2 separate regions of the Homo sapiens genome follow, and region 2 is linked to region 1. The links are contacts of gene promoters, found by promoter capture Hi-C in human tissues and cell types (Jung and others, 2019). All regions are on one chromosome and are shown on one strand. The core of a region is centred on a gene start or on the middle of the fragment in contact, and the rest is flanking DNA. Distances in the headings are between cores, read along the strand shown. Region 1 holds the start of CCSAP (centriole, cilia and spindle associated protein). Region 2 has its middle 100 kb from the start of RHOU.

What was found. The method cuts DNA at HindIII sites, captures the fragments that hold promoters and counts their contacts. A contact is called where the count stands out against the background at its distance.
Region 2: a contact is called between a fragment that was not itself captured here and the fragment with the promoter of CCSAP in region 1, in 2 of the 25 tissues and cell types used here (dorsolateral prefrontal cortex and hippocampus).

What each region holds. Positions count from the first base shown.
Region 1 is chr1:229,341,552-229,346,090 of GRCh38, forward strand. It overlaps CCSAP (centriole, cilia and spindle associated protein), which reads right to left and starts at 1,496. Exons shown (of 4, transcript NM_145257.5): 1 at 1,361-1,496; 2 at 548-962. The coding sequence starts at 914. RefSeq lists silencers at 545-744, 945-1,804, 2,651-2,945. The HindIII fragment of the contact is 5,214 bases long and covers 1-4,130 here.
Region 2 is chr1:228,836,718-228,841,370 of GRCh38, forward strand. No RefSeq gene overlaps it. Among named protein-coding and RNA genes, the nearest start is that of RHOU, 100 kb to the left of the region's middle. The HindIII fragment of the contact is 4,581 bases long and covers 1-3,620 here.

The DNA of each region.
Region 1 (4,539 bases), core at 246-2,745:
ATGCTCTCACAGCCAAGTTATTCAACACTCCACGTAAACAAATGCAAAATATTCTTTAGGGACAGCGTAGCGAGGTCGGGGAGTTAATACGGAAAACAATGGCCCCATTCATCAGACAAAGCTTAGCTCTGTGGTTCTTAACCTTTTGGGTTACCTTTGAGAATCTGATTAAAGCTGGGGCTCCTCTGATCAAAAATGGGCGCCTAGAAATAAGCAGATGGGACTCAGTGGTTCGCCAAGAAATAAGATGGGATTCAGAGGTTTGCCAAGCCGCAGAGGCCCGCGAGGAAAGACCCCAGACTCAGCCAGCGGCGCTTCAATTGAGTTCACCGCTGGCTCGACCGAAAGCCACCTAATTAAGGAAATAAAGGGTGGCAAAGGCTGCCACCTTCCCTATTTTGTCAAGAGAGACGGATTCTGTCAACCGAAAAAAAAAAAAGGAAGAGCCAGCCCCGAGTGGCGCAAGAAATAAGAGATCAGCTGCTCAGAGCTTAGAGCAAACCGTCCCTGCGTGCAGGCCCCTCGCGCTCCCCTCCGGGCCGGGTACCTGGCAGAGCCGCGTCCTCCGCGTCCTCGGCCTCCGCGTCCCCGGCCTCCGCGTCCTGCTCCTCCGGGGCCCCGCGCGCCCGCCGTTCCGCCTCCTCCTGGGTCGCCGGCTCTACGGGCGGCGGGGGCGAGGGCGGGGCGCACCGGGGTGCGGGGCCCCCGGCGCCCGACGACTCTGACGACGCCGAGTCCTCCGAGGAGCCGGCCGGGCCCCAGTCGTCCCAGAGCCAGGGCGCGTGCGCCTGCTCCAGCAGCCGGCGGCCTAGGCGGTAGTGCAGCAGCTCGCGGTAGCACGGCCCGTACTCCTCCCAGCGCGGCTCCTGGTAGCGCTTCATGTACTCGCTCTTCACCCCGCTCCCCGGGGACATGGTGCCGTCCGCCGCCTCGAGCGCCAGCCGCTCCTCGCTGCCCGCAGCCTACGGGACCCGGTACACGACACAGAGGCCGCCCCGCCCCTCCGCCGGCCCTGCCCGCCGCGACGTTTAAACCCGGAGCCCCGCCCGGACGGGAGCAGGGGGCGGGTCCCGGCGAGGGCGGGGAGGGGGCGGGGCGGGGGCGGCCTCACCCGGCGGCCGGGACCAAGAGCAGAGGCGGGGACCGGGGCTGCTGGGGTCGAGGGGCGCGCCGCCGAGGAGGGCTGCTCAGTGGGCGGAAGGCAGGGAGGCTGCGGGCTGGGGCGAGGGGACCGCAGGAGACTGGGGCTGAGCGGGAGGAGGAGCGAGGGAGGGGAGCGGCGGGGCCCGTGATCGGGTGGTCCTGGGGTCTCCGGAGGCGTCCCCTGAGCTAGGCGTGCGGTCCCGCGGGGCTGCCTTACCTCCTTCCCGCCGCGCCCGGCCGATCCTCTGCGCCCAGGCCCGAGGCGCGCGTGGCGCAGCAGCTAAAGCGCAGCTCGCTCTCCCGCGCGCTTTCCTCCTGAGCAAGATGTCGCCGCGGCGGCCCGCGCTCCAGCTGCAGGCGGGAGGCGGTGGCGCCGCCTCAGTCCCGGAGCCTCCACGCGCGCTCCCGGCCCCCGGGCCTCCGCCCGCTCCGTGGGGGCGGCTGCTTCCGTAGAGAGCGCGAGGCGCGGGGGTGCGGGCGTGCCTGCCAGTCCGAGGGGCCCAGGCCCAGGTCCCTGGCCCACTTATTTGAGGTGCCCGTCCACCCTGGTCCCAGCAGACGCTGTCCCAGGCACGCGTCACTCTGCAGGAGTCGTCAGTTAGGGGCAAGAGATGATCCCTCCAGATATGCAGCCCCCCCAGGCTGCGGCCGGGGGCGACACTCTCTGTCCTCACTCGAAACCTACCGGTTCTTCCTCTCTGTGTTCACAACACCTGTTACTCTGGCTTTAACTCCCTTTTATATCTACACTCCCCAAATTCTTTTAGATTTTGATCAAAACCATTTCACTCGCTCAGAGATTCGTTTGCACATAAAAGCTTGACAGATTAACTTACGTTGTGCAGAAGTATACAAAGTTGTCCCATTTGTTACAGTTTCAAAAGTGGCCCCACACTCTTTTCCCTTTTTACACATAAAACCTTCACAGATCCAGTTACTTTGTGCAGAAGTATACAACGTTGCCCCATTTGTTACAGTTTCAAAAGTGGCCCCGCACTGTTTTCCCTTTTTGCTCATAAAACCTCCACAGATCCGGCTGAGCGCTGTGGCTCACGCCTGTAATCCCAGCATTTTGGGAGGCCGAGGCGGGTGGCTCACGAGGTCAGGAGATCGAGACCATCCTGGCTAACACAGTGAAACCCCATCTCTACTAAAAAAATAAAAATAAAAAGAATTAGCCCGGCGTGGTGGTGAACGGCTGTAGTCCCAGCTACTCGGGAGCCTGAGGCAGGAGAATGGCGTGAACCCGGGAGGCGGAGCTTGCAGTGAGCCTAGATTGCGCCACTGCACTCCAGCCTGGGCGACAGAGCAAGACTCCGTCTCAAAAAAAATAAAAAATAAAAAATAAAAACCTTCACAGATCCAGTTACATTGTACAGAAGAATACAACGTTGCCCCATTTGTTACAGTTTCAGAAGTGGTCCTGCACTATTTTCCCTTTCTTAAAAAAAGAGCCTTGATACAGTAGCTGCAAAAAGATTTGAAAGGAAAAAACTTTTGGAAAATCTAAATATATATATAGCAGTTAAAAAGCAAGCCCAGGCCGTGAGTAGCGCTCACGGCTTCCACGTCAGGATTCCCACGAATTCACCTACTTTCTACGTGTCCGCATCCTGCCTCCCACCACCACCGCCCACCTCATCATAGCTAAATGATTCAGAGGCGGCTACTGGCCCAAATGGGGCGGGTCAGACCGTCTGCTCTGAAAACTTGAAGTTACTAGTCCAATCATTAGCACGGGATTGTGTTAATGGCAGTTTTCTGGACGGAAACTCCAGGATACCCTGCTGCTAATGAGTCCGCGGACGCCATGATTTCTCCCCTTCCCAACTTTATTTTCTGTTCCTTGACTTACATTAGGGACATTCTAATGCACTTTCCTTTTGTTTAAGCTGGCTGGGGTTGGTTTCTGATGTTTGCAACCAAAGTAGCCTTAATAAAGATTGAATAAGGTGGGGAAATGGTTATATGTAGTTCTATGGGACATGCAGGACACCATCGGTTTCAGCTTTTGCTGCATAATTCACTCCAAAACTCAGTGGTTTAAAACAGCTAAGATTTATTATTTCTTATGATTCTGAGGGTTAGCTGGGCAGTTCCTCCGCAGTTGGATTCTGATGGAGAGACAGCAGGGCTGGAAGTTTCAAGATGACCTCCTGATATAGTTGGGATAATTCCTCCAAATCTGAAGTTGAAATTGATCCCCAATGTTGGAGGTGGGGCCTAGTGGGAAGTGTGTGGGTCATGGGGGCAGATCCCTCATGCATGGCTTGGTGCCATTCTTCAGTAACGAGTGAGTTCTCACTCTTTTAGTTTGCATGAGAGCTTGTTGTTCAAAAAGAGCCTGGCATGTCCTCCTCTCTCTCTCTCACTCCCTTTCTCTCTCCATGTGACATGACAGCTCCCCTTCCCCTTCCACCATGATTGGAAGCTCCCTGAGGCCTCACCAGAAGCAGATGCTGACACTGTGCTTCCTGTATAGCCTGCAGAACCATGAGCCAAATAAACCTGTTTTATTTATAAATTACCCAGCCTCCGGTATTCCTTTATAACAGCACAAAACAAACTAGTACACCTCCCTTACATAACTGGCAGTGGGGTGGGCTGTGGGCTGGGCCGTCTTGGTCACATCCTCCAGAAGCCTGGACTGGCATCTCAAGGTCATATACATCTCCTGCTGCATTCTCACGTTCAAAGAAATCACAAGGCTAAGAGTCAAGGGAGAGAAATGAACTTCCCTTCTGCATAAGAGGAGCAGCAAATTCACATTCCAAAAGGGATTGCATACCGGGTGAAGGAATTTGCGGGCATATTTTACAATCTTCAACACAACACACACACACACACACACACACAAATATAAGGGCACTCTGGGAGGCCAAGGCAGGCGGATCACCTGAGGTCAGGAGTTCAAGACCAACCTGGCCAACATGGCGAAACCTCATTTTTACTAAAAATACAAAAATTAGCTGGACTTGGTGGTGCATGCTTGTAGTCCCAGCTACTCCGGAGGCTGACAGGAGAATTACTTGAACCTGAGAGGCAGAGGTAAGCTGAGATCATACCACTGCACTCTAACCTGAGCGACTGCACCCTATTTACAAGAGAGGCTTGCAAATATCTGGCTTTTCTAGGTTCTACACTGGCATGGGAATTCATAAAAAGTGTCAAGTAGATAGCGGATGTCTCCTGAGTATGTTTGTATTTGGAAGGGGCAGTCGGGGGCTGGGGACGGGGGGAGAGAGAGGGAGAGAGAACAGCACCATCCAGAGACAAATGGGAAGGAGAGGGCAGTGGATGGAAGGAGCACTGTGTGGGAGGAGTGGGTACAGAGCACGTGAATTGGGGAGGAGTCAGGAGGAGTGGGTACACAGCATGTGAGTTGGAAGATCAGCT
Region 2 (4,653 bases), core at 80-2,579, 500 kb before region 1:
TCTGCTGCAGTTACCCAGCATCCAGGGGTCCATGCTCTGCCAGCGTCACTCAGCCACGTGAGATGGGGTGATTGGACCAAAGGAGATACATGGTGTTTTATTTAGTGATGGTGGGGCCATTTCTGTTTTTATTTGTTTTTAACTGGGGTATGTGTGTCAGGACCACACAGCAGCAGGGAGAAGCTTCCACCTGCTTGGAACAAAAATGGGAAGGCTGCATTTCCAGGCTGCATTTATCTTATGTGTAGTGTAAGCAGCATCGCTGACTGGGAAAGAAAAAAGGGTAAAGAGCATTATAGATGCCTGATAATTCAGTCCTTAAGAGATGGCTCACTCAATTGCTTGGTTTTGTATTTTCATTTCTTTTCCTGACTGAAAATGGATCTGGAGCCTGAGAGCACCTGATGTTGGGCGAGGCCTCTGGGTACGAGGTGGAAGTTCACATTTCTGGATTATGTGTAGTTTCAGAATGCCTTCTATCTCGGTGTCAGGATAGATGTTAAGATGCAGGAATTCTCATAAATCTTCTCGTTAAAAAGAAGAAAACAACAAAACTTCTCACAGAACATAAAAACCATGTCAGGTGGCCGGGCGTGGTGGCTCATGCCTGTAAACTCAGCACTTTGGAAGTCCAAGGTGGGTGGATCACGAGGTCAGGTATTTGAGACCAGCCTGGGCAACATGTGAAATCCCGTCCCTACTAAAAATACAAAAATTAGCGGGGAGTTGTGGCACACTCCTGTAATCCCAGCTACTCAGGAGGCTGAGGCAGGAGAATCGCTTGAACCCAGGAGGCAGAGGTTGCAGTGAGCCAAGATCATGCCATTGCACTCCAGTCTGGGCGACAGAGCAAGACTGTCTCAAAAAAAACCCCAAAAAAACAAAAAAAACCCATGTCAGGTTGCTCCCCTGAGCAAGGCCAAGCTCAGTTTTCACCTGGTGGTCCCATGGGGAGCTTCCTGTGGCTTAGTGTTTGCGTCTGCCATTTGCTATCCCTCCCCAGCACACCTTCCTGTGGATGGAACTTGCCAGAACTTCCTCAGCAACCCTGAAGAGGAAAGCTGGAGGCCCCAACAGACGCAGAAGTGGGCTGCACTGCTGTGCTTCCATGGGGCAGTCAGGGCTCAGGGCCCCAGCAGCAGGCCAAACCCCAGCCCAGCTCCCTTGCAAACCTCCTCTGTCATGTACCCTGGGAGTCAGGTCCAACCCCACTATGTCACAACTGAGGAAACAGAGGCCCCGAGAAGTTCAGGGAGAGCTGGGGTCAAGATGCTAGATCCTGCCTCTGGGTGTGGTGGCTTTTGTTCTTGTCATCCGGTGGGCACTGGGCCTGCCCCGCACAGCTCCTTCACCCCGGAGAGGTGACAGCAGACTACATTAGGCCCTGCCAGGCCCAAAGACTCCAGCCTGTTAATCTTTAACCAGAGCTCTGGACAAAGGTAGCCCTTCTGACCTCCTGAGAGTTTCTGAATAGCTCGGAGGCTTCTGTGACAGAGCCACACGTTAGCAATGACATATATTTAGTGCAGGGAGGCATGTTGAGTACAGTTCTAAATTCTGTTGTGAATTGTGCCCAGGGAACAAGCACAGAGAACATTTTCACCATGGATATGTATGTACTTGTAAGAAGCAGCTGGGTGGTTCCTTCAGCAATCTGCTGAGCTGTGGCGATTACATCACACACTGGTGCAAAGGCCTTGAACCATTAATGTGCTGCCTCTGCGAGGGTGACCAGGATTCCAGCAATGAACAGAGAAGGTGCTTGTCCCCACTGCTCACTGGGTGCCTTCAGATTCTTAACTTTTGTCTTTTTCTTTTTTCTTTCACTTCTTACCTGTATCTATAAAACAGGACTCTGTTTGCTTTGAAAAGAGCCAGAATGACCTCAGGGGTCAGTGACTCATGCTGTTGGCTCTGTGAACACAATCGAGTGCCCCTTACGTAAGAAGCTCCTGCTATCTGAGGGAAGGGAGGTCCGAGCCATTATTCCTTGGTTATAAACACTCCATGTGGTTTTGTTTGGTGGTTTTAAAAAAGGTGTGTCCACAGGGTTGGTGTTCTAGAATCGTGGGCAGAAAGAAGTCTAGCTCCTTTCATCCAAGGTTCTAAAGGGTTCTCTGAGCTGTAACTCAGCTCTAACTGGACAAAGAGGCAACAATTCCCCTCATTTCCTGTGCGCTGTCACCACAGGAGGCTACACTTAAGGAGGTCAACTCAAGTTGTTTGGACCAAGCTTCCGCAGTTGTTCCCATTATCCTGTTTGAATCCATTCACTCTTACACTGGCCATGCAAATAGACACTCCCCAAGGAAAGAAGGACCTTAGAAAATAAGTGATCTCAGTTTTCATCTGACTTTCTTCTGGGGTGTGGGGCTGGTCATGGGTCTATATTCCCTGCTGTGGTCAGGGCCCTGTGGGACATGTGGCTGTGTCCCAGCCCTCTAGCACAATCTGCCGTCACTCCTGGGCTTTTGTATGCCTGCTCCCATTTGCTCTTATCTCCTCAACAACCACGTCAGGTAGATAATACATACCATCAGTCCCAGTTTACAGATGAAAAAAGTGAGGCACAGGGAGCTTCAGTAACTTGATCAAGACTAGAATTCAGAGAAATAGCCAAACCATGACTCATGATCCTCTTGCTCCAAAGTGCGTTGTCTCCCCCACAGCCCACTATATTTGTTGTTTATTTTTGAAAATGGTCATGAACTCAGCTAAGACGCTGGGGCAGTGGAGCGGAGGGAGAGAGCCTGCTCTTCACAGAGGGCTTATGGGGTGAGAGGAAGGGAAGCTAAGTACAGGGCAGGCCGGGGCCATCTAAGGTGGCCTCTGACCATCCTGGAGAGGCATGGGGCTAGAGAATGAAGAATGAGGCAGAAATGAGCGTTTTTGAACTGGTTTACCGAGCAAGAACTAGAATGGAAGGGGACATATTACAAATGACAAATGCCTGATCCAAAGCCCATGAGATGCTATTGATGAGGGCCACGGACCCTTACTCTGTGCAGACACAGAGGCTTGGATGCACACACTTGCATACACACACACACACACACACGCACTGTTTTGTTTTGCTCTGCTTTATTTTTGCCACTGTGGAATAATAAGAAGTACAGTCACGCATTGCTTAATGATGGGGATGCAGTCTGAGAAATGCATCAGGTGATTTCATTGTTGTTTGAACGTCATAGAGAGTACTTACACAAACCTAGACGGTATAACCTACTACATACCTATACTATATGGGATAACCTATTGCTCCTGTACCAAATACTGTAGGCAATCGTAACACAGTGGTATTTGTGAATCTAAACATATCTAAACACAGAAAAGGTACCATAAAAATGTGGTTAGAAAAGATGAAAAATGGGGCTGGGCGTGGTGGCTCACGCCTGTAATCCCAGCACTTGGGAGGCCAAGGTGGGCGGATCACTTGTGGTCAGCAGTTTGAGACCAGCCTGGCCAACATGGTGCAACCCCATCTCTACTAAAAGTAGAAAAATTAGCTGGGTGTGGTGGTGTGTGTCTGTAATCCCAGCTAGTCGGGAGGCTGAGGCAGGAGAATCATTTGAACCTGGGAGGTGGAGGTTGCAGTGAGCCGAGATTGTGCCACTGCACCACTGCACTCCAGCCTGGGCCACAGAGCGAGACTCTGTCTGAAAAAAAAAAAAATTAAAAAAAAGATGAAAAAAGGTACACGGTCTAGGGTAGTTACCGTGAATGGAGCCTGTGGGACTGGAAGTTGCCCTGAGTGAGCCAGTGAGTGAGCGGTGAATGAATGGAAAGGCCTGGGATGTTACATTACTGTACACTAAATTTATTTTAGCTACACTAAATTTATTAAAAAATAAAGTAATTGCACTATGACATTATGACAACCATGGCATGCATCGCTAAGGGATAGGTATTTTTCAGATTCATTGTAATCTTTTGAGATCACCATCATATGTATGGCCCATCCTTGGCTAAAATGCCATTATTTAGCATATGACTGTACACATATTGGTCTCTGCCCTCAGTTCCTGACACAGAGCTCTTAAAATCCTTGGAGTTTCTTGAGAGATAGGAGTGCTAGTAGCATCTTTTGTTCTAATCGGGCAACTCTGGCTGGGCTCCTAGATAGCCTCGGGATGGGAGTTGGTGGCCAGGGGAACCAACCATGTGATTATAAAGTTGGAACTTTCACCCCCACCCCTAACCTCAGGGGAGGGAAGAGGGGCTGAAGGTTGAGCTGAACATCAATGGCCAATGATTTAATCAATCATGCCTACATAATGAAGCCTCTATAAAACCCCAAAGTACAGGGTTCAGGGAACTTCCAGGCAGCTGAACTCATGGAGGTTTCTAGAGACTCGCACACAAGGAGAGGACATGAAGGTCTGAGCGCCTTCCACATGCCTCGCCCTGTGCCTCTCTTCATCTGTATCCTACATAATATCCTTTATAATACACCAGTAAACACAGCTACGTGACTCTCTGAGTTCTGTGAGCTGCTCTAGCAAATTAATTAAACCCAAGGACAGGGTCTTAGGAACCCAGATTTATAACCAGTCAGAAACCACAAGTAAAATAACCTGGGGCTTGTGATTGGCATCAGAAGTGGTGGAGGTCTTGTGGGACTGAGCCCTCAACCCGTGGGATCAGATGCTATCT